Linked DNA regions of Homo sapiens: all the other regions are linked to region 1. The links are contacts of gene promoters, found by promoter capture Hi-C in blood cells and fetal thymus (Javierre and others, 2016). All regions are on one chromosome and are shown on one strand. Each heading gives the region's core, a stretch centred on a gene start or on the middle of the fragment in contact. The rest is flanking DNA. Distances are from core to core; before and after follow the strand shown.

The links. Contacts are between HindIII fragments. The CHiCAGO score rates a contact against its expected background, and 5 or more counts as called.
Region 2: a fragment that was not itself captured here is called in contact with the fragment with the promoter of AR in region 1 in 1 of 17 cell types (M1 macrophages); the score reaches 5.8 in M1 macrophages.
Region 3: a fragment that was not itself captured here is called in contact with the fragment with the promoter of AR in region 1 in 1 of 17 cell types (M2 macrophages); the score reaches 7.1 in M2 macrophages.
Region 4: a contact is called between a fragment that was not itself captured here and the fragment with the promoter of AR in region 1, in 2 of 17 cell types (M2 macrophages and monocytes). The highest score is 5.5, in M2 macrophages.
Region 5: a fragment that was not itself captured here is called in contact with the fragment with the promoter of AR in region 1 in 1 of 17 cell types (M1 macrophages); the score reaches 5.2 in M1 macrophages.
Region 6: a fragment that was not itself captured here is called in contact with the fragment with the promoter of AR in region 1 in 1 of 17 cell types (M2 macrophages); the score reaches 5.0 in M2 macrophages.
Region 7: a fragment that was not itself captured here is called in contact with the fragment with the promoter of AR in region 1 in 1 of 17 cell types (M0 macrophages); the score reaches 5.1 in M0 macrophages.

What each region holds. Positions count from the first base shown.
Region 1 is chrX:67,541,120-67,545,270 of GRCh38, reverse strand. It overlaps AR (androgen receptor), which reads right to left and starts at 1,250. Exons shown (of 8, transcript NM_000044.6): 1 at 1-1,250. The coding sequence starts at 124. The HindIII fragment of the contact is 7,103 bases long and covers 1-3,598 here.
Region 2 is chrX:68,176,101-68,180,251 of GRCh38, reverse strand. The region is part of intron 15 of OPHN1 (oligophrenin 1); the gene reads left to right. Among named protein-coding and RNA genes, the nearest start is that of OPHN1, 260 kb to the left of the region's middle. The HindIII fragment of the contact is 1,419 bases long and covers 1,204-2,622 here.
Region 3 is chrX:68,154,271-68,158,421 of GRCh38, reverse strand. All of the region lies in intron 15 of OPHN1 (oligophrenin 1), which reads left to right. Among named protein-coding and RNA genes, the nearest start is that of OPHN1, 280 kb to the left of the region's middle. The HindIII fragment of the contact is 5,387 bases long and covers 1-4,151 here.
Region 4 is chrX:68,132,025-68,136,175 of GRCh38, reverse strand. The region is part of intron 15 of OPHN1 (oligophrenin 1); the gene reads left to right. It also overlaps the pseudogene AKIRIN1P2. Among named protein-coding and RNA genes, the nearest start is that of OPHN1, 300 kb to the left of the region's middle. The HindIII fragment of the contact is 1,827 bases long and covers 907-2,733 here.
Region 5 is chrX:68,112,241-68,116,391 of GRCh38, reverse strand. It overlaps OPHN1 (oligophrenin 1), which reads left to right. Exons shown (of 25, transcript NM_002547.3): 17 at 3,153-3,211. Among named protein-coding and RNA genes, the nearest start is that of OPHN1, 320 kb to the left of the region's middle. The HindIII fragment of the contact is 2,371 bases long and covers 645-3,015 here.
Region 6 is chrX:68,093,788-68,097,938 of GRCh38, reverse strand. It overlaps OPHN1 (oligophrenin 1), which reads left to right. Exons shown (of 25, transcript NM_002547.3): 19 at 910-1,069. Among named protein-coding and RNA genes, the nearest start is that of NXTAR, 310 kb to the right of the region's middle. The HindIII fragment of the contact is 319 bases long and covers 2,159-2,477 here.
Region 7 is chrX:68,071,376-68,075,526 of GRCh38, reverse strand. It overlaps OPHN1 (oligophrenin 1), which reads left to right. Exons shown (of 25, transcript NM_002547.3): 20 at 2,228-2,375. It also overlaps the pseudogene PGK1P1. Among named protein-coding and RNA genes, the nearest start is that of NXTAR, 290 kb to the right of the region's middle. The HindIII fragment of the contact is 3,627 bases long and covers 67-3,693 here.

The DNA.
Region 1 (4,151 bases), core at 1-2,500:
GGTGCCTGGGGCCCGGGTTCTGGATCACTTCGCGCACGCTCTGGAACAGATTCTGGAAAGCTCCTCGGTAGGTCTTGGACGGCGGCCGAGGGTAGACCCTTCCCAGCCCTAACTGCACTTCCATCCTTGAGCTTGGCTGAATCTTCCACCTACTTCCCTTACCCCGCCTCCCCTTCTCTTGCTCAGAAGAGTTCAACAGGCTGTGATGATGCGGTAGTCGCTGCAGCTAGCTGCCCACCTGCGGGAAGCTCCAGAGAAGGAAACTTGCGGGAGCAACCACGCAAAAAGCGCTCTGACAGCCTCAAAGTCTCGTGCAGAAGAAGACACACGGTGGACAAGATCTGCCCTGCTAGGCTCACAGTCTGTCTCTTAATACTTGAAGGGTAGATTCAAAAGATGCCCAGATCTTAAAAGAAAAAAACAAAATCCTCCACCTTCCAAATTCAGTGTCCACTGAAGTAGGTGCAAATAAGAACTGAGTTATTATCTTTTTCTTTTATTTCGGCTTTTTTGTTTTTGTTTGTTTTGTTTTTTGGCTACTGAAGACCTGACTGCCTTTTCATCTTTTGATCTCTGGCTCCGCACTCGGGGTGGGGAAGGCAGGAGGAGGTGGAGAGAGAGTGGGGGAAAACAGAGGGTTCTCTCCGCGTGCAGCCTAACCAGGCGGGTCGTGGCTGCAGTGCTGAAGCCGCTCCCCAGTCGCCTGGCTCCTAAGAGCCTTCTTTGCAATGTGCAGCTAGCTCGCCCGCTCGCAGCCAAAGGGAGTTACCTCTCTGCAAACTCGGGCTGGCAGCGCTGGGCCGACGGGGGCGGGGGGGCGGGTGGGGAGAAGGGTGGTGAGGGGGGTTGGCTGAGAGTAGCCGACTGAGGCAGCTGCGGGAGAGAAGACGGGGGAGGGGGGGAAGGCAGGGTGGGGGGAGGCGGGGTGGAGAGGAGGAGGACAAAGGCAGCCGTCAGTCCTACCAGGCACTTTCCTTGCTTCCTCCGAGTCTTTAGCAGCTTTTAAAAACTTCACCGAAGAGGAAAGGGCAGCTCCGGGCGGCGGCTTCGAAGCCGCCGCGCTGCAAGAGGCGTTGGCTGTCGCTGGAGCCGGGCTGGGGCTGGCGTGGTGCGTCCCTTCGGCTCCTGTACAGCACTGGAGCGGCTAGCTCGGCCCTTTTTCCCTCTGTCGCCTCCTCTGCCTCTGGGCTTGCTCCGGACCGTCCCGCTCTCCCAGCAAGCTGGCTCCCCGGGATCTCGGAGGGGGCGCTGGGAGGTGGAGAGCAAATGCAACAGTTTGCGAGTCGGGTCCCGCCCCCACCGGGCCGGCCTCCTTGCCTTCCCACCTCCTTTTCCCTCCCCTCCCCTTTCCTTTTCTCCCCTCCCCTCACCGCGCGCTAACGCCTGCCTAGTGGCTTTGGAGAAACAAGTGCTGGCGCAGCGTGGGCGAGGGCAGGAGAGGCTAGCTCTAGCCCTGGAGGACCCCTGCTTCCTGAATAGCTCCTGCTTTCCTAAACCAAGGTTTAGGCGCCAGGGCTCCAGATTTCCTGGAGGCCAGCACTCACCAAATTTGGTTCCAAAGCCCAATCTAAAAAACCAACAGGGTGGAGGCGAGGGAGGGAGGAAAAGGACGATAGGAATACCTGCTCCTGGCTGCCAGGGGTTCTTTTCAGGACTGATAAGAGCGCGCAGATGGGAGAGTGGGAGAGTCTCCTACAAACTGAGGAGCAAGCCATGACCAAGCCAGCAGATACTTGCTGAAACCTTAGATTCCGTCATAGGGATAGATCGGGCCTCGTGGCATTGTGCCATTTGCTCTAGGAACCCTCAGCCCCAAGAATCAGAGGTCATTTCTACCCTCTTCTCTGCCTTTCTTCCTGTCTGGAATTGCCTTTAACCATGCATTTCTCATCCAGACTCTCAAAGGCAAAATCACCCAGACAAGCAGGTAAACACACAAACACTAAAAACACTTGCCATGTACACATAGGCGCTCAATTTTGTCCAGAGCTCTGTAAACGTTTGCTTTGTATGCAGCCGCTTGCTTTTCCAAGTTGCCTTCGCATATTTTAAACTTTACAACTGGAACTATCCAAGGATAGAACCTATATAGGGCTGCTTTTCGCCTCTTGATGGACAGCCAGGCGTAGAGGATGATGTGGGTTACTGCAACTGCTCTTTTGTGGAGGAGGTCCCATAAGCCCTGTGTAAAGGTGGAGATGCAAGTGGGAATGGAAAGAGAGAGAAAATGTAAACGTAAACCTATAAGGAAAACATCTTTCCTTTATGTCAGTAGAGACCCTGGGCCTCCCTATGTTTTAAATTCCTTTGACTTCTGATTCTGGGGAGGCTCTCTGTTCCAAAAGTCATTCCGAGATTTTTGCCTGGGTCTCTTTTGCTTTTTGCAGTCTTCTACAGAGAAAAGATGGGTTGTAGCTTTGTTGTAGCTTTATCTTGTGCACAGCCAAACATCATAGGCATTTACTTACCTTGACCAAAGAAGGTAACTCAAACCTAAAGGCAAGGAAGACTGGATATGATAGGCTCTATTTCACAGATGAACAGGCTGAAACAAGGACATAATTTGTTCTATGTTCCACATTAGTAAAACCTAAACTAGTCTTCCAGTCCATTGCTATTTGAGCTAGACTCTAGACTCATCAATCGCATTGTCATTTGGGAAATGGCTATAAATGAACCTTCCAGAACACAAAGGCCTGAAGACCCTTTCACCTGAGGAGGTGAAAAATTATTTCCTGAGATTTTAATGGCTACAGCCTTCCTTGAATATACCTCACCATATGTAAGTAGAATGCGTAGATACTTCAACCTCATTTGAATACTCATTGCAACATTTAATCCCACCACAACTTTCAACTAGCATTGCTCAATAGGAATTGAGTGGGCTGGCAGGATGGTAGAATGGAATTAACATAGGTCTCAGAGCCAGGAGAACTATGTGTCTACACACTAACAGTGAAGGAAGGTGCAAAAATCACTGAATGAACAATGGACAGGAGTGAAGAGGACACATAGACACAAAGAGGCCTGAAAAAAAATTAAGGTGAGAAATAATGCTCTGAAGTTACTCTGAATAAAAAGCAGTCTGACATTCAAACCTGGGTCTGAAAGACTCCAAAGTTTATGTTGCTTCCACATCACCAACATTGTCTTCACAGTTTCCACATCTGAAAACTGTTGCCAATATAAGTTACCCTCAGAAGGCTAGTGTGTCATTTAAAAGACATAATGTGTATAGAACAAACTTGTAAACAGGAAAGCATTCTACAAATCTGAAGGATTACTATGTTATTTTTATTTTTAAAGATGGTGCTGTCAACAATTATATCATTATCAGGAAAGGTTAACTACTATAAGCATATTAGGGCCATATACTTTATTTGGATTTTGAACTCTGATCTTCCAGCTCAAATCTCATTTTCTTCCCATTGCTTTTAAGAACAAGAGACAATTATTGATTAATATTATATAAGTTCACTGTTTGTACCAGCTTTCTTCTTCTTTCTCCTCCTGTTCTTTGCAGTTTTTTAGTAATCAAATGGAACCAGAGGTGTTCTCTCAGATTAGTCAGGTTGAGAGTAAGTTTCTGCTATAAGCTTCCTCTGCAACTTCAAGAGGGATTTATTAATAAAGTCTTCCCTAGCTCTTTGCTCTGGAAAGCCAGGATGAGCTGACCTTTGGAAAATGGTGACCATCGGGTTTTATTTCCTAAGTATCTCACACATCTGCCCATTTATTTCATCTCTGTTGTTGCCAACCTAGTTCACTTCCAGAAGGCACCGTTCTCTTCCACCTGGAGCACTGTAAATGGTCATCCTCCCTCCACTCTTTCCTAGAATCAGTTCTGCATTGTGCAGCCAGAGGGTTTCTTTTTAATAGCCGTACTGAGGTATAATTGATATATACAATAAACTGCACATATTTAAAGTTGCATAAATTGATCATTTTTGACACACGCGTGCACTCATGAAATCATCACTCAATCAAGATAGTGAATATATCTATGATTCCAAAAGTTTTTATTGTGCCACTTTGTACATTTTCCCTCCACCTCTCCTATACTCCTCCTCCTCAGGCAACCAATGATCTGCTTTCTGTCAGTATAGACTGTTTTTCACTTTCCAGAGTTTTATGTCAATGGAACTATACAG
Region 2 (4,151 bases), core at 664-3,163, 630 kb before region 1:
TTCTAAGTATATTTCTATGAGTATACACATAAACTATTTTAGAAAATTTAGATCATAATTGATGAAGAAAGAATTATCCATGATACTTGGATATAGTAAGGTAGACATTTTTTCAACAGAGACTACTGCATTGGGGTTTTATAGTAGGAAGAGAGATTGAGCTCAACTCCAAATACAAGGAAATTTATATCCAAGGAGCAGGATGGGTGTTATGGCTTGAATATCCCCTCCCAAACTGAAGCGTATCTGCCACTATAATGTTATCAAGAGGTGGAGCCTTTAAGAGGTGATTAAGTCATGAGGGCTGTATTTTCATGAGAATGGGTTAGTTACTGTGAGACTGGGCTCCTGATAAAACAATAAGTCTGGCCTAATTTTCACTCTGTCTTGACCACCAACTTGCCCAGCTGTCATGGGATGATGAACATAAAGACCCTCACCAGATGACAATGTCATGCTCTTGGATTTCTTAGCCTCCAAAATCATGAGCCAATAAACTGGTTCATAAATTACCCAGTCTGTGGTATTGTTATAGCAGCAGAAAATTGACTAAGACAGTGGGAAGCAGTGGATGGAGAAATGCTAAGAGGAAACATCAGGAGTAAGGAGAGATTGTGAGTAAACTGACTTGATAGGATACTTGCTCAAAGCCGGATACAGTGATCAGATACCTAGAGTAGGAGATTTTCACTAAACTGACTCAGCAGGATTCTTACTGAAACCAGACTATGTGGGCCAAAGACAGGACCCAAGGTTGGGACCTAATCAGAAAGAGAATTCAGAGGAATCTGACTCAAGTTTGCTCAAGGAGAGAATCTTTTTCATAATATAAATGTTTTATATTCTCAGCAGTGTCAGAGAACTGGACAAAGATATACATTATTGCCTCTCTCAGAGAATAATATTCTGTAAGGACTAATAAAAGAAACATAGAACTAAGGTAGAATCATAAAAATTGGAAAGGAGGAGGCAATATCCATATGTTAGAGAGGCTATACTTGTTAGAAAAATCAAGAGCTTCACCTAAAAAATTCCTGAGAAGGAGAATTTAGTGAGATAGTTGATTGAAATTTCTTTCCTATATACAACAATAAATTGTATAATAAAATGGAAGAAAAATTCCCTTTGAAGAAATTAACCAAACATAAAATACCTAGGTCTAAACTGAGCAGGAAATGTGTAACATCTATATGGAGAAAAGCTTGGAATGCTAAAAGGGAACTAGAGAGAAGGCTTGAATATATACAAACACAGAGCCACTTTTTGAATTGGGATATCCAGTGTGGTAAATATGTCAGTTTCTTACTGTATAAATATAATGCAGTCACGATGAAAAATATCTGGAAATTAATTTGTTTGGAACTAAACAATCTGCTTCTGATGTTTATATGTATGTATCACCTTGAGCCGAGAGTCAGGAAATATTTGAAATAGAAGAACCATACCTAGAAGTAAGATATATAAGAAAGTTGCAATTGACAAAAACAATTTGGAATTTGTACATGCTTAGACAGTGAAAACAGTATAGTGAATTCAAAAGTAGACCTGGGCTGGGCGCAGTGGCTCACACCTGTAATCCCAGCACTTTGGGAGGCCGAGGTGGGTGGATCACCTGAGGTCAGGAGTTTGAGACCAGCCTGATCAACATGGTGAAGCTCTGTCTCTATTAAAAATACAAAAATTAACTGGATGTGGTGGTGCGCACCTGTAATCTCAGCTACTAGGGAGGCTGAGGCACAAGAATTGCTTGAACCCAGGAGGCGGAGCTTGCAGTGATCCAAGGTCACGCCACTGCACTTCAGCCCAGGTGGTAGAGAGAGATTACGTCTCAAAAAAACCACAAAAGTAGATTCAAATATATGTGGCAATTTAGCGTATGATAAAGGTAGAATTTCAGATCATTTGGAATGAAGTGTTTAATTCAGTTTATAGTGTTGATAACTGGCCATACATTTGGGGAGGTATACATTTCACCTTATAAAACCCTTTGCACAATTTGAATTTTGAACTCTTCAACAAAGAGCTAGTTTAAAAAATAAATTAAAGGGTTGATATGATTAGGAAATTTTTAAATGTATATTTGTCTGTCTCTGTCAATTCACCATGTTCACAGACTAGGCAAAGGAATAAAAATGCTGCCATAGGAAAACAAAACCTACCTAATATAGTGTGTAATGGGGTATTTTGACATGGATATATCAGAGATCAATAAAATTCTCCCAAATGTAAGTATTAATGTTAAAATCTCCAAACTTTTCTAATTGAGATAATACAAAATAACATATACACTGCCAGTCAATTGGCATAACATTCCTCTTAAAATATAGGTCTATTCTATGAGCAGCTGATATGGTTTGTATCTGTGTCCCTGCCCAAATCTCATGTTGAATCGTAATCTCCAATGTTGGAGGTGGGGCCTAGTAGGAGATGATTAGATCATGGGGGTGAATTTCTCGTGAATGGTTTAGCCTCATCCACTTGGTGCTGTTCCAGTGATAATGAGTCAGTTCTTGTGACATCTGGCTGTTAAAAGTGTGTAGCACCTCCCCACTCTCTCTCTTCCTCCCATTCTGGCCACATGAAGTGTCAACTCCCCCTTCATCTTCTACCATGATGTAAGCTTCCTGAGGCCTCCCCAGAAACCGAGCAGATGTTAGCACCATGCTTCCTGTATAGCCTGCAGAACCGTGAGCCAATTAAACCTCTTTTTTTTTAATTAAATTATGCAATCTCAGGTATTTCTTTATAATAATGCAAGAATAATACAGCAACTGACCAGATTATCTAGCTGTGACTGTATATTCTTAAAATTTCATATAGGGTTAATCAAGCCCCCATTTAGGGAGTATTTTTGTTACTTTTATTTTTAATTGTGGTAAAATATACATGACAAAATTTACCATCTTAACTATTTTTAAGTTTATTGTTCATTAATGTTCATTGTATTCACATTATTTTGCAACAAATATGCAGAGCTCTTTTAATTTTGGGAAACTGAAACTCTGTACAACATTAACAACTTTCCATCCTCCTCTCTCCCTAGTTCTTGGAAACCAACATTCTATTTCCTGTCTCTATGTGTTTGACTACTCTAAGTGCCTCATATAAATGAAATCAAACTGTATTTGTCTTTGCGTGACTGGCTTATTTCACTTGGTGTAATATCCTCTAGATTCATCCATGTTGTAGAATGTTTTAGAATTTCCTTCATTTTAAAGGCCGAATAATATTCCACTGTGTGTGTCTATGTATGTATGCATATATATATATATATATATGTATATATAAAAACAATATGTATTGTTCATTCATTCTTCTGTGGATAGACACTTGGGCTGCTTCTACCTTTTGTCCACTATGAACAATACTGCTGTAAACATGGATATACAAATATCCCTTCAAGAAGCTGCTTTTACTTCTTTAACCCATTTATGCCTAGTGTTCCATTATTGGAATGCTAAGCATGTAGGAGTTATTTATATCTTACTACTCAAGGTCATCATCAAGGTCTGATTGCAAAAATTCAAAAAAATTGCAACTGCCAGCATAAATGGGTTTAAGTATATGTCGAGAAAGTAGAATTGCTGGGTTATATAGTAATTCTGTTTCTAGTTTTTTAGGAACCACCATACTATGTTGCATAGTGGCTTTACCATTTCACATTGCCACCAACAGTGCACAAGGGTTCCAGTTTTTCCACATCCTCACCAACACTTTGAATTTTCCTTATTTATTTATTTTTGATATGTAGCCATTCTAATGGGTGTGAGGTGGTATCTCATTGTGGTTTTGATTTGCATTTTCCATGTGACAATGTTGAATATCTTTTCATGTGCTCACGGGCTATTTATTTCTTTTAAGGAATGTCTATTCAAATTCTTTGCTCATTTTAGAATCAGTTTGTTTATTTTTTGTTGAGATTTAGGAGGTCTTTATATATTTTCAGTATTAACCCCTCATCTCTAACACACACACGATTTACAGATATTTTCTCCCATTTGATGCACAGAAGTCTTTAATTTTGTTGTAGCCCAATTTATCTATTTTTTCCTTTTCTTTCTTGTGCATTTCGTGGCATATTCAAAAAATTATTGCTAAATAAAATGTCATACAGTTTTCCCCTATGTTTTCTTCTAAAAGTTTCAAGCTTT
Region 3 (4,151 bases), core at 799-3,298, 610 kb before region 1:
GTATACTGTAATAATAACAGTCTAACCAAACTTTCCAGACAACAGCAGGATTTTCCTCCAACATCTGTGTTTGATACACAGTTGCTTATATTTTGTTTGTACTCTTGTATATGTCACTGCCCTGCAGCCACAGTACCTACCTGTGTTTGAAAACAGGTCCAGCCTATACCTGCCTTTGGCCTTTGCACTAGCTAGTTTCTCTTTCTACACTGCTTTTGCGCAAGGCTCTTTCTCCATTTTCTTCAGATCTCAACATAAACTTCACCTTATTGCAGAAACTTTCCCATATCACTGGATAGAAAATAGCACCTCTTTGGCAGGCACCTGTAGTCCCAGTCCCAGCTACTTGGGAGGCTGAGGCAGGAGAATGGCGTGAACCCGGGAGGTGGAGCTTGCAGTGAGCCCAGATTGTGCCGCTGCACTCCAGCCTGGGCAACAGAGCGAGACTCCGTCTCAAAGAAAAAAAAGAAAAAAAAGAAAAGAAAATAGCACCTCTTTATCTCTCTTGATCCCTCATATTTCATTTTACCAATACTTAATGTATTTTGTCATATATTTTAATTATTTGTTTATCCTTTCTTTGCCATCGTTAGTACTTAAGCTCCATAGGGGTATGAATTTTGTCTGTTTTGTGTTTTGTGGTATGCCTAGTATGTAGATCAGTGCCATGCACAAAGTAGACTTTTTATTTTATTTTATTTTGTTATTTATTTAAATTTCCAGTTTTATTTTAGATACAGGGGGTGCGTGGGCAGGTTTGTTACATGCATATGTTACACCCAGGTAGTGAGCATAGTATCTGTAGCTAGTTTTTCAACCCACGCCCTCCTCTTTCTTCCCCCGTCTAATAGTCTTCAGTGTCTATTGGGCCCATGTTTATGTCCAGGTGTGCTCAATGTTTTGCTTCCACTTATAAATGAGAACATGTGGTGTTTGGTTTTCTGTTCCCGCATTAGTTCGCTTAAAATTATGGCCTCCAGCTGCATCCATGTTGCTGCAAAGGACATGATTTTGTTCTTTTTATGGCTGCATAGTATTCCATGGTGTATATGTACTACAGTTTCTTTATCCAACATACTATTGGATGGTATACTTTTAATAAATATTTTTAGAGTGAATAAATGAGTTACAGTATGGCAATTTTATCTATCCCCAGAGGAGCACTGTCCAATACAACTTTCTATTATGATGGAAATGTTCTCTGTCTGAGTTATCCAATGTGGTAGATGCTAGTTACATGTGGTCACTGAGGATTTGAAAGATAGCTAGTGCAACTGAGGAAATATATTTTAAATTTTATTTAATATAAATTCAGATTAAATTAGGCCAAGTGTGCATATGGTTACTTTACAGCACAACTCCAAAAAGTCGTCCGCCTTACCATGGCATCTTTTCAAGGCATAATTTTTACCTTTTATTCCTATTCATGGAGTTACTTCTAGCATTGCTGGTATTGTCATCATTTTTACTACATACTATGTGCACTGTAAGCATCTTGGGTCTTTATAGAAACTCCCTTTGGTTATACTTGCTGTCAATAAACAAGAGTTCAATTATCGGGATTTGTCTACAAATGAAATTACATCCTTAATTTTGCTTGATTTTGGAAATAAGCATCTAGTTGTCTCTTCATTTCTTCTTTCATATGTGATACATTTTGTAAATTTTTTCAAGTCATATTGTTTTTGCAATAAAATGGCATGAAGTACTGATGCATAACAACATGAATGAACCTTGAAAACATTATACTAAATGGAAGAAGGCAGTGATAGGAGATCAAATGTTGTTTGAGTGCATTTATATGAAATTTCCATAATAGGCCAATCTACAGAGAAAGAAAGTCGATTAGTGGTTGCCCAGGCTGGTGGGGAATAGGGGAAATGGGGACTCACTGCTGAAGGGTTTGGGCTTTCTTTCTGCATGATGAAAATGTTCTATAATTAGTTATGGTTATAGTTGTACAATTTGTGAATATACTAAAAGCCTCTGAATTTCATATTTCAGTATGTTTGTGTGTGTATGCATGTCTTATATTTTTATATTTATTTTATCTTTTTTCTTTTTTTATCTTTTTTTTTTCAAATTACCCAGAATCTGAGATGTGTTTTTTTTTTTTTACCTCTTCCTTCAGAGATTCTGATTCATCAGAACTAAGATGATAATCTGCATTTTAAACAAGCAATCCAAGTGATTCTGATTTAGGTTGCCAAAAGATTTTTTTCTTTAAGAAACAATGCTTTAGGCAAGGATGTTATTAATCTTTCTTTAAGAAATTTCTGATAAAGTAGGGAAATGCATATCTTTCCCCTAATTATATATGAATATCCTGGCCTCCCTGATACCATGGTTATATTTTGAACTGAAATTTGTAGTTATTGATGATGCTGACACATTTTCTCTGTATTTGGCATGCCATTGCTATTTTAGACATATAAGGACACTCAATTGCTGTATGGTACTCAGATGGCTTTATCTTATCAGTTGAAATTTCTTCTTATTCTTTGTATTTTTCTTTAAAAAATAGATTTGGTACTTGCCATACCATAACCTCTGTTATTACAACTGTTTTACCATTACTTTGAAACCTATTGTAGAGAAACAAGAACTCTTTCTCTACATTATCCCAGTCTTCACATTTTGTAAGCTGCTTATCAGGTTGGGTTTTCTAGTAAGATATCAGAAGCACAGCCTACACAGGGCAGAGTATGTCCAACATGTGGTGGTGGGCAATCTGTGTCTTAATCATCTGGAATGTTTGTTAAATATCCTGGGATCTGAGAATCAAAATTTCTGAAGAGGTAGTGTATTAGTCTGTTTTTACACTGCTGTAAAGATACTACCCGAGACTGGGTAATTTGTAAAGAAAAAGGTTTAATTGACTCACAGATCCACATGGCTAGGGTGGCCTCAGGAAATTCACAGTCATGGCGGAAGGCAAAGGGGAAGCAAGGACCTTCTTCACATGGTGGCAGGAGAGCAGCATGGGGGAAACTGCCCCCTGATCCAATCACCTCCCACCAGGTCTGTCTCTAGACATGTGGGGAGTATGGGGATTACAATTCAAGATGAGATTTGGGTGGGGACACAAAGGCTAATCATATCAGGTAGCTTGAGTATACAGGTTACTATCATGTCCACTGAAGTCTGAGAGCAACTGACGTAAATTTTTCATTTTCCTTTTTTTGTGTGCCAAAACTGTAGATGAGAGAACCACTGATTTATGTAGTGATCTGTGCCTTTATGTTCTCTAATACACAACTTCAGAACAGTTTTAAAATTCATTCTGATTCTTCCTTAACTTGGTCATTATATTTGCTTTTCTTGGGATGGGTAGAATTTTGCAGTTTCACTTGAAACTGATTTTTGCCTCTCTACTTGATCTTGCTTGTCTAATAAAAACTGTGCTTTGCACCCTCTAGCATGCTTTTTGTCACCTGGCTCTACTCCCGATTTCTACACTACTTAACTTGGTCAGCATAGACTTCACCTTTAATAGACTTAAAAAAAATCTCTGCTACTCCGTTTATGTGTGTGTGTGTGTGTGTGTGTGTGTGTGTGTGGTGTGTACTATTGTTCTGCTAATGTTCTTTTATGCTTTGGTCCTTCTTATAAATCCATAAAACCATAGGGATAACAGTATTACAATTTTAAATACCTGTAACCTCTGACCTTTCACAGAAAATATGAAATACATAGACGTATTGACCTGACCATTTCTAAATTGCTATGGCTTCTAACCTTTTCCAGCAATCTGAAAAGTTGTGGGAATTTATATTCTATTTGTAAAGAAAGGACTAAGAACTGTGACTTCAAAATAAGAATCATAGTAGACCAGTTATAAAATGCACTATCTAAAAAGGTATGCTTCACATTTATGATCCCGGTATTTGCATTCTGTGTCAAACATTAAATATGAGAGAATTATTCCAAGAGAGATGAGGAAGAATCGATATAATTTTAGCTGGCAGAATTTATTAACATATTTGCTTATCAGTCCTCACAAATTATGAGCTGTCCTTAGGTGATATATTTATTTGGATTCTGCTGTGTTGTTTTGGTGGCAACACCATGCCTGAATAGGTGAAAGGGGCTCTGGAATCTAGATACTTGCCTTAAAACCTTGTCCCTGCCATCTGCTAGTTATGCTGCTA
Region 4 (4,151 bases), core at 571-3,070, 590 kb before region 1:
TTTAATAACTTTATATTTAATAATATTTAATTTGATTAAAATTTGAATTACCATATGTAGCCAGTAGTGGCCCTATTGGACAGCACAGATTCCAGCACAACACGTAACTTAGGGATGACACTCAATACATATTTGCTTAAGGAAGGAATGACTCTCAGATTTATTTTTCCAGCTCAGATCTTTCCCTTGACCTTCAGACTTATGTATGTAATTTCTTATTTGGCACCTTCACTGAATTTCTATTAGACATTTTCAAACCATCTATTAGACAGTTCCAAAGACATTTCCAAATAGTTCATGTCCAAAATGAACTATTGATCTTTCTCTCCAAGCATACTCCATCCATAAGCTTCTCCATTTCAGTTTCTTCTACTCTCTCAGACTAAAAACTTTTGTCATGTATGATTTTTGACAGCTAATCTACCAACAAATTCTGTAGGGTCTTATTTCAAATTATATACATAATCTGACCACTTCTAGTCATCTCCACCAGTTTTACTAAAATTTAAGCCACAGCCATTTTTGTTCCATGTTATTGAAATAGACCTTTTATATGTCTCTTTTCTCTGCTGTCCCAGTTACGCTCTTACTGTTGTCTACACAGCAGCTAGACTGTTCTTCTGTATTCAGGCCAAGTCAGAGCAGACCATTCCTCTGTTTAAAACTCACCAGTGGTTTCTCATTTCATTCAAAGTAAAAGCAAAGGTCCTTCCAATAACCCAAAAGGCCTATATAATAGCTCCCGCTCCCCTGTCCAATACCCTATTCTCTCTCTTGGTCTCATCATTTTTAATACTCTCCCTTCTTTATTCCACTTTACTTTCACTGGCTTCCTTATTGTTTATTTTTTTAAGAAGGCAAGGTAAACAAATAGCTTAAGTATTTTTATTTGTTTGCAACTAAGCTTGTTAACACTATATAATGAAAATGTGCAAAGAATAATGTTGCAGTTTTCGGTTAGATTTAAGTCAAAGATATTCATTAATAAGGAATCTTCGAACGTGAATATTCCAGAAATTTCTCTAAGCCATCTGATCAGAACAACTGTCTCTGAGTATTACCTTACTTTGTAAGGTATTGGCATGCATTTGAATTAAACTCAGATTTTTTCAAAATAAGTCCTGATTAAAAAAACTATTCTATATTCAAACTAAAAGAATATAAATAGAACTTTTCCTTTCCAGAAACAATAAAGGAAACAAGGCATTTTGTAAAATATGGTCCTGAGCAAGTTGCAGTAAAAAAATAAATGTATACTTCTACCTGCTCAAAACAGAGGCTACTTTCTTTTCCTCAGTCTTGGAAACAAGGTGAAGAACAGCCTAAATGTGACTTCGGGCAGGCGGTTGCCAAAACAGCTCAAGCAGTTGACCATGGACACCTCAAATGAATTTGGGAGAACCTCACCAAAGGATCCAAATTCTATTTTTAATAACTGATACAAAGGTGAAGTGGCTCTTCCCAAGTAGCAGTGCTGCCAGGGCCTGGCCCTGGCCCAGGCCCAGGCCCAGCTCTGAGCTTACCTGCTATGCTCCCAAGCAAACCATGATCCTTCTGCTCCAGGGCAGACCTTTTCCCTTTAGAGGTTCAGTGTCCAGGGAGCTCTATGATTGTGTGAATGAGGTGAGCGCCGACTCCATGTGAGTATTTTAAGGCTTGGAGTCAAAGTATTTTTCTAACACGCTTAGGCAGAGTCCATGTGTCAATGGCCCATCTCCAGTTTGTTCTAATTTCTCACCACACATTTGTAGATATTTCTCACCACACATTTGTAGATCTAGGACCACAGACCTTTGCTGTATTATCATAATCACAGCTAATGTCCATCCTAACTTATGATTCATATTCTATGCCTGGAAACAGTCCCTGTATTTAACAATAAAACCTACACATAAAAACAATCCACTGTTGCAACTTATATGGTCACAAAACGTAAATGATCTTCTGTAGAACAAGCAATTTTTTTTTTGTTTTTTGTTTTTATTTATTTATTTATTCTTTGAGACAGAGTCTCACTCTGTCACCCAGGCTGGAGTACAATGGCGCGATCTTGGCTCACTGCAACCTCTGCCTCCCTGGTTCAAGTGATTCTCCTGCCTCAGCCTCCTGAGTAGCTGGAACTACAGGTGCCTGCCACCATGCCCAGCCAATTTTTGTATTTTTAGTAGAGACGGGATTTCACCATATTGGCTAGGCTGGTCTCAAACTTCTGACCTCAGGTGATCCAAGCACGTCCGCCTCTCAAAGTGCTGGGATTACAAGCGTGAGCCACAGCGCCCGGCCAAGCAAATGTTTTTAACCATAATTGTCATGAATCAAGCTCAGCCAGAATCCCCAAGATCAAAAAAAAATTGCACTATACAAATAATAACTTGAAATATACATACACACGCTCTCATACACACTTCTTACAGAACTGTGCTTGGGGAAGCTCCATTTGTTGAGTGCCACTGAAGGCATATTTTGCTAAACTGCTTCTCCAAGTATTTTGTTTTGGAAAATCTATCACAGTAGGGCACAGCTGTTTACTGGATGAGCAGAAAAAGGGAGATATGCTTGTGGCAACCAAAAAGTTTTAAGGTCTTTCAAGTTGTATAAAATGGACCTACAGAAACGTTTAAGTGTTCTCAGGATGCAAAATTGAAGCTGAAATGTGTTGTCAAACCAGTTGCAAAAAGTGTACAGCAGGCATCTCTTGAGGTTAAACCTGGTACCCAGATACATAACAAAGCTTCAGGACACATGGCTTGTTGGCCTTGTCCCATACCGTTGCATAATCTGATCATGTGTGAATTTCACAAAAGATTCATTCATATTGTTCTGCTAGTTTGGTATTGAGGATTTGCTCATACTCCTCCTGAATCTTGTCTTCATAGTCTAAGACACACTCACGTATTATTCCGATTTGTCAGAGGGTAAATGTGGGCTGGTCCTTCTTCATCCATGAGGAACCTGGAGAGCTAGGTGCTATGAGTGCTGAGGAGTGAGGTTGACTTTCTGAAGCACAAGCTTCACTCTGATTAAGAACAATTTCTAAATGTCTCCACCTCTGATAACGACTGTATTCTAGTTTTATGTTCTGAAAAATTTTCTCCGGAATTGTAAGGCGCCGCTTGCTGCCGAGTGGGGCGGACTGCTGCAGAGTTGGCGGTAGGGTCTGCGTCTGAAGCGGCGGCGGCTTGGCGTCCGGGGGCCTGAGGCCCGGAGTGGGGCTGGGCAGAGGGGTGCAGCACGGCTGCTTCGGGGAAGCAGGGACTCAGCAGCTTTGTACCGAAGTCCATGGGCCGCTTCAGCGTCGCCTGGTTCGCCAGGTCGCTGACGGGCCAGGGACCGGGAGCGGACTCGGGTAAGTGCGGCCCAAGCTCCGGCTCCTCAGTGGGGCTCGCCAGCCAAGCCCTATTGTTTCTTTTTCTTTTTTTCTTTTTTTTTTTTTTTTGACACTTAGTATCTCAACATTTTATTATTATTTTTTTTTAATTATACTTTAAGTTTTAGGGTACATGTGCACATTGTGCAGGTTAGTTACATATGTATACATGTGCCATGCTGGTGCGCTGCACCCACTAACGTGTCATCTAGCATTAGGTATATCTCCCAATGCTATCCCTCCCCCCTCCCCCGACCCCACCACAGTCCCCAGAGTGTGATATTCCCCTTCCTGTGTCCATGTGATCTCATTGTTCAATTCCCACCTATGAGTGAGAATATGCGGTGTTTGGTTTGTTGTTCTTGCGATAGTTTACTGACAATGATGGTTTCCAATTTCATCCATGTCCCTGCAAAGGACATGAACTCATCATTTTTTATGGCTGCATAGTATTCCATGGTGTATATGTGCCACATTTTCTTAATCCAGTCTATCATTGTTGGACATTTGGGTTGGTTCCAAGTCTTTGCTATTGTGAATAATGCCGCAATAAACATACGTGTGCATGTGTCTTTATAGCAGCATGATTTATAGTCATTTGGGTATATACCCAGTAATGGGATGGCTGGGTCAAATGGTATTTCTAGTTCTAGATCACGTATTTCAAAATAATAAGAGCTATCTATGACAAACCCACAGCCAATATCAGACTGAATGGGCAAAAACTGAATTTTCCTCTAATCGCCTCATTAAATGTATCCCACAGATTTTGATATGTAGTGTT
Region 5 (4,151 bases), core at 581-3,080, 570 kb before region 1:
TTACTTTCCAATCTGACTCTGGCATAACAAGGGAGAAAATGAAAATGTTTTATCCCAAAATATATTTTCTTGCCATACCTTGAAATTGCCCTGCAAAGTCTCTTGTGGGAAAAATCCACATTCTATAGAGAATCCCCTTCCCCCATTGTTTTCCTTCATTTCTTTCCAGATCCAGGAGATAATCAACTAAGAGCCAGGTGCCCTTTTAGGTCTAATAAGAAACATTTTACAACGTACTCTCTCTAAAGTCTGGTATCTGAGAGATTCCTCCACACAATAAAACTTGGTCTCCACAATCCTTTATCTTAACCTGAACATTCCTTTCCATTGATCCCGGTCGTCAGATAAACTCAACCAATTGTCAACCAGAAAATGTTTAAATTTACCTATAGCCTGGAAGCCCCCACTTTGAGTTGTCCTGCCTTTCTGAACCAAACCAATGTATTTCTTAAATGTATTTGATTGATGTCTCATGCCTCCCTAAAAATATGTAAAACCAAGCTGTACCCTGACCACCTTGGGCACAAGTTCTCAGGACCTCCTGAGGGCTGTGTCACAGGCCATGGTCACTCATAGTTGGCTCAGAATAAATCTCTTAAAATATTGTACACAGTTTCACTCTTTTTGTCAACATCAGCCAAGCTTCTGTGTCAAGTAATATACACTCCTGGTCTGTACTTCTTAACTCCCCAGTTCCTTCTTAACTCATTGTAATCTAACTCTTACCCCCTCTGCTCCAATGAAGCTGCTTTTGCCAGGGTCACCAGGGATACCCTCAATGCTGCACACAAAGCACAGTTGTCAGTCTTTACCTTACTTGACCTTTTTGTAACATTTGAAGTTGTTAACAAGCCTTCTTTGATACTTTCTTCTGTTTTGGATTCTGCTGAATCACTTGCTTTTTGTTTTTCTCTAACCTCTTTGGTCATTTTAGTCAATCTCCTTTATGGGCTTTCTATTTGGTATTTTCCTGGGCTCTCTGCTCATTTTACTATAGTAGAACAACTGAAAACTGAAATATCTACAGGGACCAGGAAATAAAACTGAATGAAGTAGACTATTTTCATATTAAACACTTTGCACATTGAACCTTTATTTGTATGACAAGCCCTTTGTTTACATACAAACAGCAGTGTTGTTTACTTCTACAAAGAACCAATAGAGCCAGATCTTTGCATTTTTCAACAGGGACAGGGGATATGGGTTTGTATATGAAATATCTCATTTTAAAATATTTTGATCATTGATTCAATTCCATTTCACTTTTATACACTGTGCTGGACAAAGAAGAAATATCGGAAGACCTCATGTAGCTGTTTGACTGCCAGTTTGCCAGCTCCCCTGGAGAAGTGGCATCTGTTCTTGTGGTTTCGTCATCTGTTCTCTAGGTTCCTGATTTTCACATCTGCTTCTCTGATCTAGCAGAGCCCTGCATCCAGCTTCTTAGTAGATATCACCTTCCTGAGGCCTCCCTGACTTAGCATCTCTACTTCCCTCTTAATCAACTCTTATTCTATTCACTCACCCAAACCAAACTGCTCCCTTGCCATCATACCCAATCAAAGAAGGAGTTCTTTCTTTAATATTTTTCAAAACAGTCTCCTCACCTATTCTTTCTATGCTTTGTCACCCAGGCTGGAGTGCAGTGTTGTGATCATGACTCATTGCAGGCTTGCCCTCCCGCCACACCCTTCTCTCTCTCAGGCTGAAGCAGTCCTCCCATCTCAGCCCCTTGAGTAGTCTGGACTACAGGCACGCACCACCATGCCCAGCTACTGTTTTTAAGTTATTTTTAAGAGGTAGGGGTCTCATTCAGTTGTCCAGACTGGTCTCGAACTCTTGGGCTTAAGTGATCCTCCTGCCTTGGCCTCCCAAAGTGCTGGGATTACAGATGTCAGCCACCATGACTAGCCCCTCTGTTTGTCTTTTATTATCTTTTGCTTGGATTACTACAGTAACAACAGTGGCAGGCAGTATAGTATAGTAATTAAGAGCATGGACTCAGGAGACAGACTTCCTGCTTCTGCCACTTATTAGCTGTGTAATTTTGGATGAGTTTTTAACTTCTCTAGGCCTCAGTTTCCTCATCGATGAACTGGAAATGGTACCTACCTCACAGAGTTGTTATGAGGTTTAAATGGGTTAATACATGTAAATCACTTAGAGCAGTACAGAGTTTGCTATTCTTATAATTATTAGTTGATTACTTACTTCCTCTGAGCCACCTACCATATACCTTTATTTTGTCATCGTACTTGTCCCACTGCATTGCAAATTTTGTGTATGGTGCTCTTTTCTACTAAACTATTAGCTCGTTGGAGGTTTGGACTATTTCTATTCATCTCTGGATCCCCAGTACCTGGCACAATGCCAGGTACAAGTAAATGCTCAGCCAATGTTTTTTTTTTTCTTTTTTTTTTTATTATTATTATACTTTAAGTTTTAGGGTACATGTGCACAATGTGCAGGTTAGTTACATATGTATACTTGTGCCATGCTGGTGTGCTGCACCCATTAACTCGTCATTTAACATTAGGTATATCTCCTAATGCTATCCCTCCCCCCTCCCCCCACCCCGCAACAGTCCCCAGAGTGTGATGTTCCCCTTCCTGTGTCCATGTGTTCTCATTGTTCAATTCCCATCTATGAGTGAGAACATGCGGTGTTTGGTTTTTTGTCCTTGCGATAGTTTACTGAGAATGTTTTTTGACTAAATGAGTAAACCCATTTGAGCCTGAGTTTCCTCCTCCCGTAAATGGGGATTTGAATAACTGCTCCACCTCACAGGATTATTGGGAGGACAATTGCAAAAGCACTTCGGAAATTCTAAGGATCTATCAAATCGTAAGGGATTCATGGTAGCATTCAGCATGGGTCCCCTCTGGAATTTTGCAGGACTGGTTTGTGCCTCTTTTTACTTCTGGGAGCTAGTTGGAGACCTTGCTAGAGGGCTCAGCCCATGCTTTTGCAGGTCTTTTGTTGAATTACTAGCAACTTGGATTCCCTGACGAAGCTTCAGGTGAAGAGAAAAATGTATATAATCCCACTAAGCTGTAGGGCTCAGGAACTTCAGCCTTGCTGTCCCCAGAACTAAGAATCCAATACCCAGCTGCTTTCTTCCCAAAGCAACTGACAATTTTCATTCATTTCAGGAATCTTTCTGAACCTGTCATGACCTATAGACTTCACAAAGAGCTGGTCTCTGCTGCCAGTAAGTATTTATGTTACTAATTAACTGTGTTGTCCTAGTTTCTTAATGTTTACTGCAATAAGCCTAGAAAATTGTTTGAGGGGAAGTGATTGAGGGCACAGAAACCTAAAACACATACACAAATTATGCACAACTGCCAAATGAAAGTATTCTTGCTTGCTGTCTAACTCAAGAGTTCTATTATTTTTCATAATTAGTGTTACTTAAGTGGGCTTGAGAAAATTGGTTAACTTGAGGGTTGTGTGAATATAAAGGCTTTATTTATATATGTATTCATTGCCTCTTCCATCAGAACAAGAACATTGGCTCACATTACCAGGGGACAGAAAAATGGTTACACGACAGTTGCCGTTTCAACTTCCTTCAGCATTTTGCCTGTTCAAATGCTTTTCGACTGTGTTGTGAACCATTGTCCTTAATCTGTTAGTGCCAGCATCACATTTTCTAGATGAGAAAACTGAGGGAGAGGGCGTCAGTACATAGGAAATAAGGCATAGAGAATCACTCCCAAAAGTTGGCGATTAAAGAAGCATTGAAAGTTTTGGCTGAGGCCACTGTATGAGTGCCCCTCTCCACCTCAATGTGACCCTTATTCTGCATCATATCCTGTGTGGTGTAGAGGAAAAAGATTCAGGGGACTTAACATCATAATGCGTCTTTGTTGAAACAAGGGAGCTTTGTTCTTTACTTCTGGGCTCTCTCAGTGATTTTAACAGGAATCCAGAGGCAGCAGCACACTTCTCAGTACCACAAGGAAGGTGGATGGGAATAGGTTTCCAGCTGGAAGTTTATCTGTGAGACTTCAGGAACAACCTGCTGTGCTCAGAGTTCTGACTCCCTCTGAGACAGTCTTCTCTTCTCATCCTTCTCTTTTCTATCTTCTATTTTCTACATCTTTTTAGACCTGTTTCTTTGTGTGTGTTTTTTTTCTCTTTTTCTG
Region 6 (4,151 bases), core at 1,069-3,568, 550 kb before region 1:
GGTGCCAGGTACCATGCTGAAGCAATTTATCTTTATTTATTCAACAACTCTCTGAAGTGGGTGCTATTTTCCCAGGTGGGAAAACTGAAGTTCAGAGAGGTTAGAGTGAGTGAACTCACTGTTGCGCAGCTGGTAAGTGGCCGTGTTGGGATTCAAACCCAGCTTCAGAGCCTAAGCAGTGAGTAGGGATTGGAAATAGGGGTCAAGTTACTCAAGTTATGGAAGGCCTCATTTGTCACTTTGAAGAGAATTGGCCCTATCCCAAAGTAGGAAGCCACTAAAGGGAATTTAAGCAATGAAAGTGACTAGGGATCAGAAAATCTGGGATTGCACGTTCTACTCTACAGCTAATTGACTGTGACTTCGAGCAAATTCCTTTCCTTCTTTGGGCCTATGTTTTTTCATCTGTAAAATAAGGAAGATGATCAAGGGCAAGTCTTAATGATCCCTTTCAGCTCTTTCAGGTTTTTGCTTCTCTAACGGGGGTCAGGAAGGGGCTGATTTAAGAGACTAGTAGGCATTCTCTCAATGTGCTTTGTGGTTCTTTGTACATGCTTTATACTTATATGGGCTGTTCCTCTTGCTTTGAATGTCCTCTTGCTTCCCTCCTGCCTCTCCAAATAGTATCCCACTAGCTTTAGTCCCTCCCCACATCCCTGTCTGTCTCTTAATTCCTTCAATGCTGTTAGCTAGGTTAGCTATGTCTAACCACTTTGATTCCTAATTTTATACTATCTTGTATTCTTTGCTGATTGTTTCCTTTGTAATCTTGCCTTCCAATACATACTTTAGGTGCTCCTTTCCTTCTACATTTTAGTTTCTCTTACCCTCTACAGCACCTAAAACAGTCTTGGTTGTAAGGGGATACTGGAGCAAATTTTGTTAATCTTGCCCCTTTTCTTCTGGCAGTGTGTGTGAGCACAGCAAAGAGAATCTTATGACCCCCTCCAACATGGGAGTAATCTTTGGGCCCACCCTGATGAGAGCTCAGGAGGACACTGTGGCCGCCATGATGAACATCAAATTCCAGAACATAGTGGTGGAAATACTAATCGAGCACTTTGGCAAGGTATGCATTTTCTATTCTCACTACCTGTCTTCCAAACATGTGACACTTTCCCCCAACTGCCTTTTAGTGCTGTGTCTTCCTCCTTGGCTCACGTTGACAGTGAAAGGAAATCCCATTATGACACAATGACATTTAATGGCAACTCTGACCCTGGGAAATTCATTCATTCAGCAAACATTGCTTAAGCTTATAACTATATTATTTTCAGACACCATGCTAAATACTGGGGGTAATGAAGAAGAAAAAGTCACTGTCTGTGCCTTTAAGGTGTTAACAATGTGTAGTATGGAGACAGATGGGTAAATAGGAAAATGATAGTATAAAAGTAGTCTATATACAATGAAACTGTAGGGGAGAAGATATTTATGTTCTCACCCATTGCTAGTTTCATGGCTGAGATCCCTATAACAAAAGACCGATTAACAAGAGAAAAGCATACAAATTTATTTAATAAGTTTTACATGACACAAGAACCTTTAGAAATGAAGACCCAAAGAAGCAGGTAAACTCTTGCATTTTTTATACTAAGTTTGATGAAATGGATCGTTGTGAAGATTAGTGATTAGAAGACAGAAGGATATGATCTAATGGTAATAAACTTAGGGGGATCTTAGCAAGGCTTGTTTGTTCAGATTCTTCTTGGTGTTTCTGTGTCTTCGAGGATAGGGATGTTCTTTTCCTTCAGTTATAGGGAGGGTACCTCTGGAATGACCTACTTCAGAGGAAGGTCAGAGAATTCTTTTATGGCCTGCTCCAGGGGAGAAGGTAGAGAAACCTTCTTGCTTCTGCTGTTTCCACAAACGCCAAAGTGCCATATTTTGGGATAGCAGGTCCTGAACTCCATCAAAACTAAAAAGAAATCAATGCTTACACTTATTCGAACCCCATCTCATTCCAAAAGTATATATGGTAGCATATTTTATATTGCACATAAAATATAAGGCATCATACATTATAATCAGGTCAAGTACAAAAGGTAAAACAAAGGTAGAGTCAGAAAATGATGCCCAGAATGAGGTTAAGACAAATATTTATTGACAAATTCTTGTACACTTGCAACAGATGGCCCTGCACACTGGGGTATAAGCTTCATAGCAGCTAGTGCCATCCTAGGGAAAAGCATAATTCAATAAAGAAGCACAGGGAGGCAAAAGCAGCAGGACTTGGTGACTGGAAGTCACCAAGGATGGGGGAGAGGGAGATTTCTGAATCCTGATTTTCTGACTTGGCTGACTGGGTGGATGGGGCTGTCCTTATACATATAAGAAATTCAGAATGGGAAAGTTTGAGGGAGATAGAGGAAAGTTCAGTTTGGAACAGGTCGCATTTGAGATTTGTGAAAGACATCCAGGGAGCAATGCCTGGCGAGCAGTTGACTATGTGAATCTAAAGCAGGGATCAGAAAGCTTTTCCTTAAAGGACCGTATAATAAATACTTAAGCCTTTGCAGGCCATGGATTTCTGTCACAACTACTTAGCTTTGCCATTGTAGTGAGAAAACAGCCATAGACAATATGGAAACAGATGGTTGTAGATGTGTTCTAGTAAAATTCTATTTACAAAATGGGAAACAGGCCTGTGGGCTGTAATTTGCTGACCCCTGTTCTAGAGCCCAGATGTGATAAATTGATAAATCAATTGATTCATCCAACAAATATGTGTCGAGTACCCACTTTATGCCAGGTACTGTTTCAGGAACTCTAGATATCATCTTCATAGAGTTTATATTTAGAAAAAGTAAACAAATAGTATTCAAAGTAAGTAAAGTATATAATATTTTAGATTGTAATGAACATTAAGGAGAAAAGCAGAGAAGGGAAATAGGAAGGGTTGGAAAGTGGTTTTGCAATTTTAAATACAGATAGGAAAGGAGAAAATAAGGAAATGAGGAGGGCCTCACAGAGAAGATGACCTTTCAGCAGAGATCGATAGGGAGTAGAGGAATGATTCATTCACCTATCCAGAGAGAAAGGATTCTAGGCTGAGGAAATGGTAAGTGCAAAATCCCAGAGGCAGAAGTGTGCCTGTCATATTCACGGTACAACAAGGAGGCCAGACTAGCTAGAGTGGATTAAGCAAAAGATGAAATAGAAAAAGATGGGCTCGAAGAGATAATGGAGAGGGACAGACTAGATCCTGTAGTGGAGTCTTATAATCCACTGGAAGAATTTTAGATTTGCTCTGCCTGGGTAAGATAGAAGGGGGGTTTTGAGCATGGGAGTGACAGGATTTGATTTAGGCTTAACAGGCTTATTCTGGCTGCAATGTGGAGAATATGAAGGAAGTCAAAGAAAATCTAGATAAATTGAGATACATACTGTGTTCATGGAGTGGAAGACTCAACATGATAAAGATGTCAATTCTTTAAAAATTATAAGTTTAAGGTAATCAATATCAAAATCCCAGCAAGAGCTTTTGTAGATAAAGACAAGATAATACTAACATATATGTAGAAATGGAAAGGAACTGTAAGGGCTAATACAATTTTGAAAAATAATAAACTGGAGGTAGGTATTAATAATATTAATGCTTACTGTATTGCTTCAGTAGTCAAGACAGTGTACAATTGGCAGAGGTAACCCGATAAGTCCTCTTGTCTACTTCTTACATAAACAAATAGAACAGAATAGAGAATCCACAAATAGCCCTACAGAGTATGGCCTGATTATTTTTCATGAAGGTACAAAAGCATTTCAAGGGAGAGAGGGTAGTCATTTCAATGAATTGTATTGGAGCAATTGCAGCTCTATAGGTAATGAAAGTGAACCTCAACCTAAACCTCTCATTTTATATAAAAATGAGCTCACAAAGGATCATACATTTACATATAAATCATAAAACTAAAACTTGTAGAAGATAATATAGAAAACTGTTAGAGCCTAGGACTTATTGAGGAGACATGATACCAAAAGCATAATCCATTAAAGAAAAAAAATCAATAAATTGACTTCATCAAAATTAAAAATTTTTGCTCTGTGAATGACCCTATTAATAAGATGGAAAAAAAAGCTACCGAGATTTGGAGAAAATATTTGCAAACCACGTATCTGACAAAGGATTAATATCTAGACTATACAAAGAA
Region 7 (4,151 bases), core at 631-3,130, 530 kb before region 1:
TATTCTAGGTTCTTTGCATGTCCTTATACATTTTTGAATCAGCTTGTCAATGTCTACATACAAGCTTACTGGTATTTGGGTTGTGTTCAGTCTGTAGATCAATTTTGTGAGAATTTACATCTTAACACTATTGAGTCTTTATACCTGCAAACAAAATATATCTCAGTTTATCTAGATTTTCTTAATATTTCTCAGCAATATTTTGAAGATTTTAGTGTACAAAATCTCTCTGGCACTTTGCCTTGCAAATTCTCACTTCCTTGTCTTTCCCATACTCCCAATTCAGTCTTCTCAACGTAGGGATACTACTGGGTTCCACTTGGGTTCCCCTTCCTGCACTGCAGCCTGCAAAACTCTAAGCTGGGAAACTCATAGGGCTGACCTCATTTGTTTTTTTCAGTCTCTCAGCATTCACTGTCCTTCACTGCTGGATTTCCAATGCCTTTAAAACTACTGTTGCATGTATTTTTCCTAGTTTTGTTTTGTTTTTACTTGTTTCAGGCTAAATGAGTAAAACTAGTTTCTGTGCCCTATCTTGGCCGGAATAAGATAGTAGCTGTTTGTAGTAGTATTTTAGTAGTAGTAGTTAGTAGCTGTTAATAGTAGTAGTATTTTCAGGTGACAGTTTGGCCTTTTACATTAGAATTGCAAATGTATTTGTTTTTTGCCTCAGCAATTCCAGTCCCTCTTCTAGGTGGTGGAGATAGAGCAGTGAACATGACAGACATGCTTCTATGTTGTGTAAAATCTAGCTTGGAGACAGACAGCAAACAAAATCAATAAGTAAAACGTGTTATATGTTAGAAAGTGATAGGAAATGCTGAAGAGAAAAAAAATTAAAATGGAAGGAAGATAGGAATGCTTGCGTAGAGGGAGGCATGTCATTGTTTTAAATATATTGACCTGGAAGGGCTTACTGAGCAGAGTATGTTTGATTAGAATCCTAGAAGAATGGATATCTGAAGGAAGATCAGTCTGGGTGGAAGAAACAGTCAGTGCAACGACCTCATGTATTCGAAAAATAGCAAGGAATATTTGTAACAACTACTACAGTGTTTGAGCTCACAAAATGGTGGCTCTTTAGACTATTATTACTAATGATGGTGGAATTAGGAATATGACCTAGAACCGTATGGCCTCAACATTAATCTGCTTGCTGTTAAGTTACATTTTGTCTTCCTTACAATCATGAGGCATATACTCACGGTTTGTGATTGTTCATGCATTGTTTCTTATCATTGTCCACCTTTTACACAGCTTGCCTTGTGTTCTCAATCATGTTATTTCCATGCCCATGTAGTCTGTGTTGACCCTTGCCTGATGGGATATTGGGCTCTGACATTTCTCTTTACACTAATCACTGGGGTTGATTTTGTTAGTCTCACTGGCTAGACAGTGGTCTCCTTTCTCCATCACATATGTGTATCATCCCATAGTGTATGCACTTGGGCTAAAAGGTTGGTCTCCATGGAGACTGGAAAATCCTTAAGTACACATGAGACATTATATAAAAATTCTAATCACAGCTCCTTCTGCATGCCTTCGGCACTTCTTATAGCATCCAAGGCACTGTGTTGTTGCTTTTTAATTTTATTTTACTTTTTATTGAATAGATAATGTACCATGGCATGAAATTATAAAAGAACAAAGTGACATAGGAGGGAAAACACAGTTGTTCTCCCTGTATTCCCCAGCCAATCATTAGTCCTACCTTGAGACAAACAATGTAATCAGATTCTTTGGTATCCCTTCAGAACTATTTAAGGCATATGGGCATGTAATTGTGTTTAGTCTCCTTCCATGTCCTACCCCCACCCATAGAAGGCACCTTGACAGCTCCTTTAATTTCTTTCTTACCACACTCTGTGAAGTGGGTGATGCTGTCCCTATGTTACGGATGAGAAAGCCAAGGCTCAGAGAAGTGAGGTGACTTGCCTAAGGTCTCCCAGGAAGGACATGGAAAATCCAGGACTAATGCCATCTTTTATAGGCATTTTTTCTTCCAAACTGAGAAGTGCCAGGTTCTGTGCCTTGAGCATAGTAGGAGATACCTAAACATTTACCTGTAGCTAGAGTGATTAAGAAAATCTCTGATTCTTTGAGTCATGTTAGTATTCACGTTACAAACTCTAGATATAAGGCCAACAAGCATCAACTGGTGGGTAGCATTCAGAAGACAAAAACTTGATCTAATTATTCTCTAGATATCTTCCTTCTTTCTCCACAGATCTATTTAGGTCCACCTGAGGAAAGCGCTGCACCGCCAGTGCCTCCGCCTCGGGTGACAGCAAGAAGGCACAAACCAATCACGATTTCAAAGCGCTTGCTGCGAGAAAGGACGGTTTTCTATACTTCTTCCCTGGATGAAAGCGAAGGTCAGTACTGAGGTTCACCTTTAGCTTCTGAATGGTGATTAGACACAAAGAGGATATCGAAGGGCAGAAGCGGTGGCATGACCATTTTTCTCTCTATAAAAGTAGACCTTTCCTGGCTCCTGAGCTTAAAAGCAGCCAGGGTTTGTAGTTTGTGCTCAGAGAGGGGATTAAGCCTTTGACAGCAGATAGGATGGTGATGAGCTTGTAAAGGAAGTTACCACGTGGAGGATCCCTATAAGGCCAGTGCAGGATCCAAGGTGTTCTTAGATTTATGCCCCCAATATATTGAAATGGGTGAGCAAGGTGAATGTTGTGAAATTTTAAATTCAAATATAGCAAACACGGATTGGATAACTACTATGTGCCAGGTACTGTGCTAGGTGAAATTAAGATACATTGCTTGCCCTCACAGAAGAAATGGAGACATAGATAAGTGAAGAAATAAATGCCTTCAGTGGAATAATTGCTAGTGTGGAGACTACACCCATTCTAAATGTGCCTCTGCCCTCCTACTCCACTAAGACCATTTTTGTCAGGTTTGCCAATAATCTCCATGAGGCCAAACCAAATAGCTACAACATTGTTCTCATCATACTCAGTTTGTGAGTAGCATCTGACACAGTTGACTAACTCCTCCTTCTTGAAACACTTTATTCACCTGGCTCTCAGGATACCAGATTTTCCTTTAATCTCACCAGATAATCCATCTCAGTCTTCTCTCCTGGTTTTCCTTCTCTTCCCAACTTTACATGTTAGAAGGTCCCAGAGCTTTTTTCTTAGTCCTGTTCTCTGATCATGTTCTTTTCCTGTGTGATCTCATTAAATTTCATGGTTTTACATATCATTTAAATGCTAAAGATGATTTCCAAATTTATCTAAGATTGATATCTTGCCTCTTTTGTCATATCAAATTTCCTGCTCAACAGTTCTCCTTGGATGACTCATGGGCATCTCAGTTTACACTGTGCAAAACATAACTTGATGCCTGACTCTTTCTTAACCTGCTCCTACTCTGGTCTCCTCCATCTAAGTAATTGGCAGCAGCAGTCATCCAGTTGCTAAGGTCAAGAACTTTGGAATCATCCTTGGTTACTACTTTCCCTTTTTCCTTCATATTGAATCCATTGGCAATTCTTGTCAGCTCTACCTGCACATTATATGCTAACTTCTACTACTGCCCACTGCTTCTATCACTGTAAGCCACTATTATCTCTTACCTGGTATCATTGCTTGCCTTCTTCCTTGCCTGTAATTCATTCTCCCCGGCAGCCAGTAACAGCACATCCTTTAAAATATGGAAATCAGGATTCTGCAAGCTTCCCAAGCACACATCAGCAGCCGGCTCCCTTACTGTCTGAATCATCGACCTCTCTCCATTTCCAAAATGTCGCTTTCTAACAAGCTGACATTGGACAAACCAGACGTCAAAGGGCAGCGGGTCATTATGAGAGTGGACTTCAATGTTCCTGTGTAGAATAACCAGATAACAAACAACCAGAGGATTAAGGCTACTGTCTTAAGCATCAAATTCTGCTTGGACAATGGAGCCAAGTCAGTAGTCCTTATGAGCCACCTAGGCCAGCCTGATGGTGTCCCTATGCCTGACAATACTCCTTAGAGCCATTTGCTGTAGAATTCAAATCTCTGCTGGGCAAGGATGTTCTGTTCTTGAAAGACTGTGTAGGCCCAGAAGTGGAGAAAGCCTGTGCCAACCCAGCTGCTGGGTCTGTCATCCTGCTGGAGAACCTCCACTTTCATGTGGAAGAAGAAGGGAAG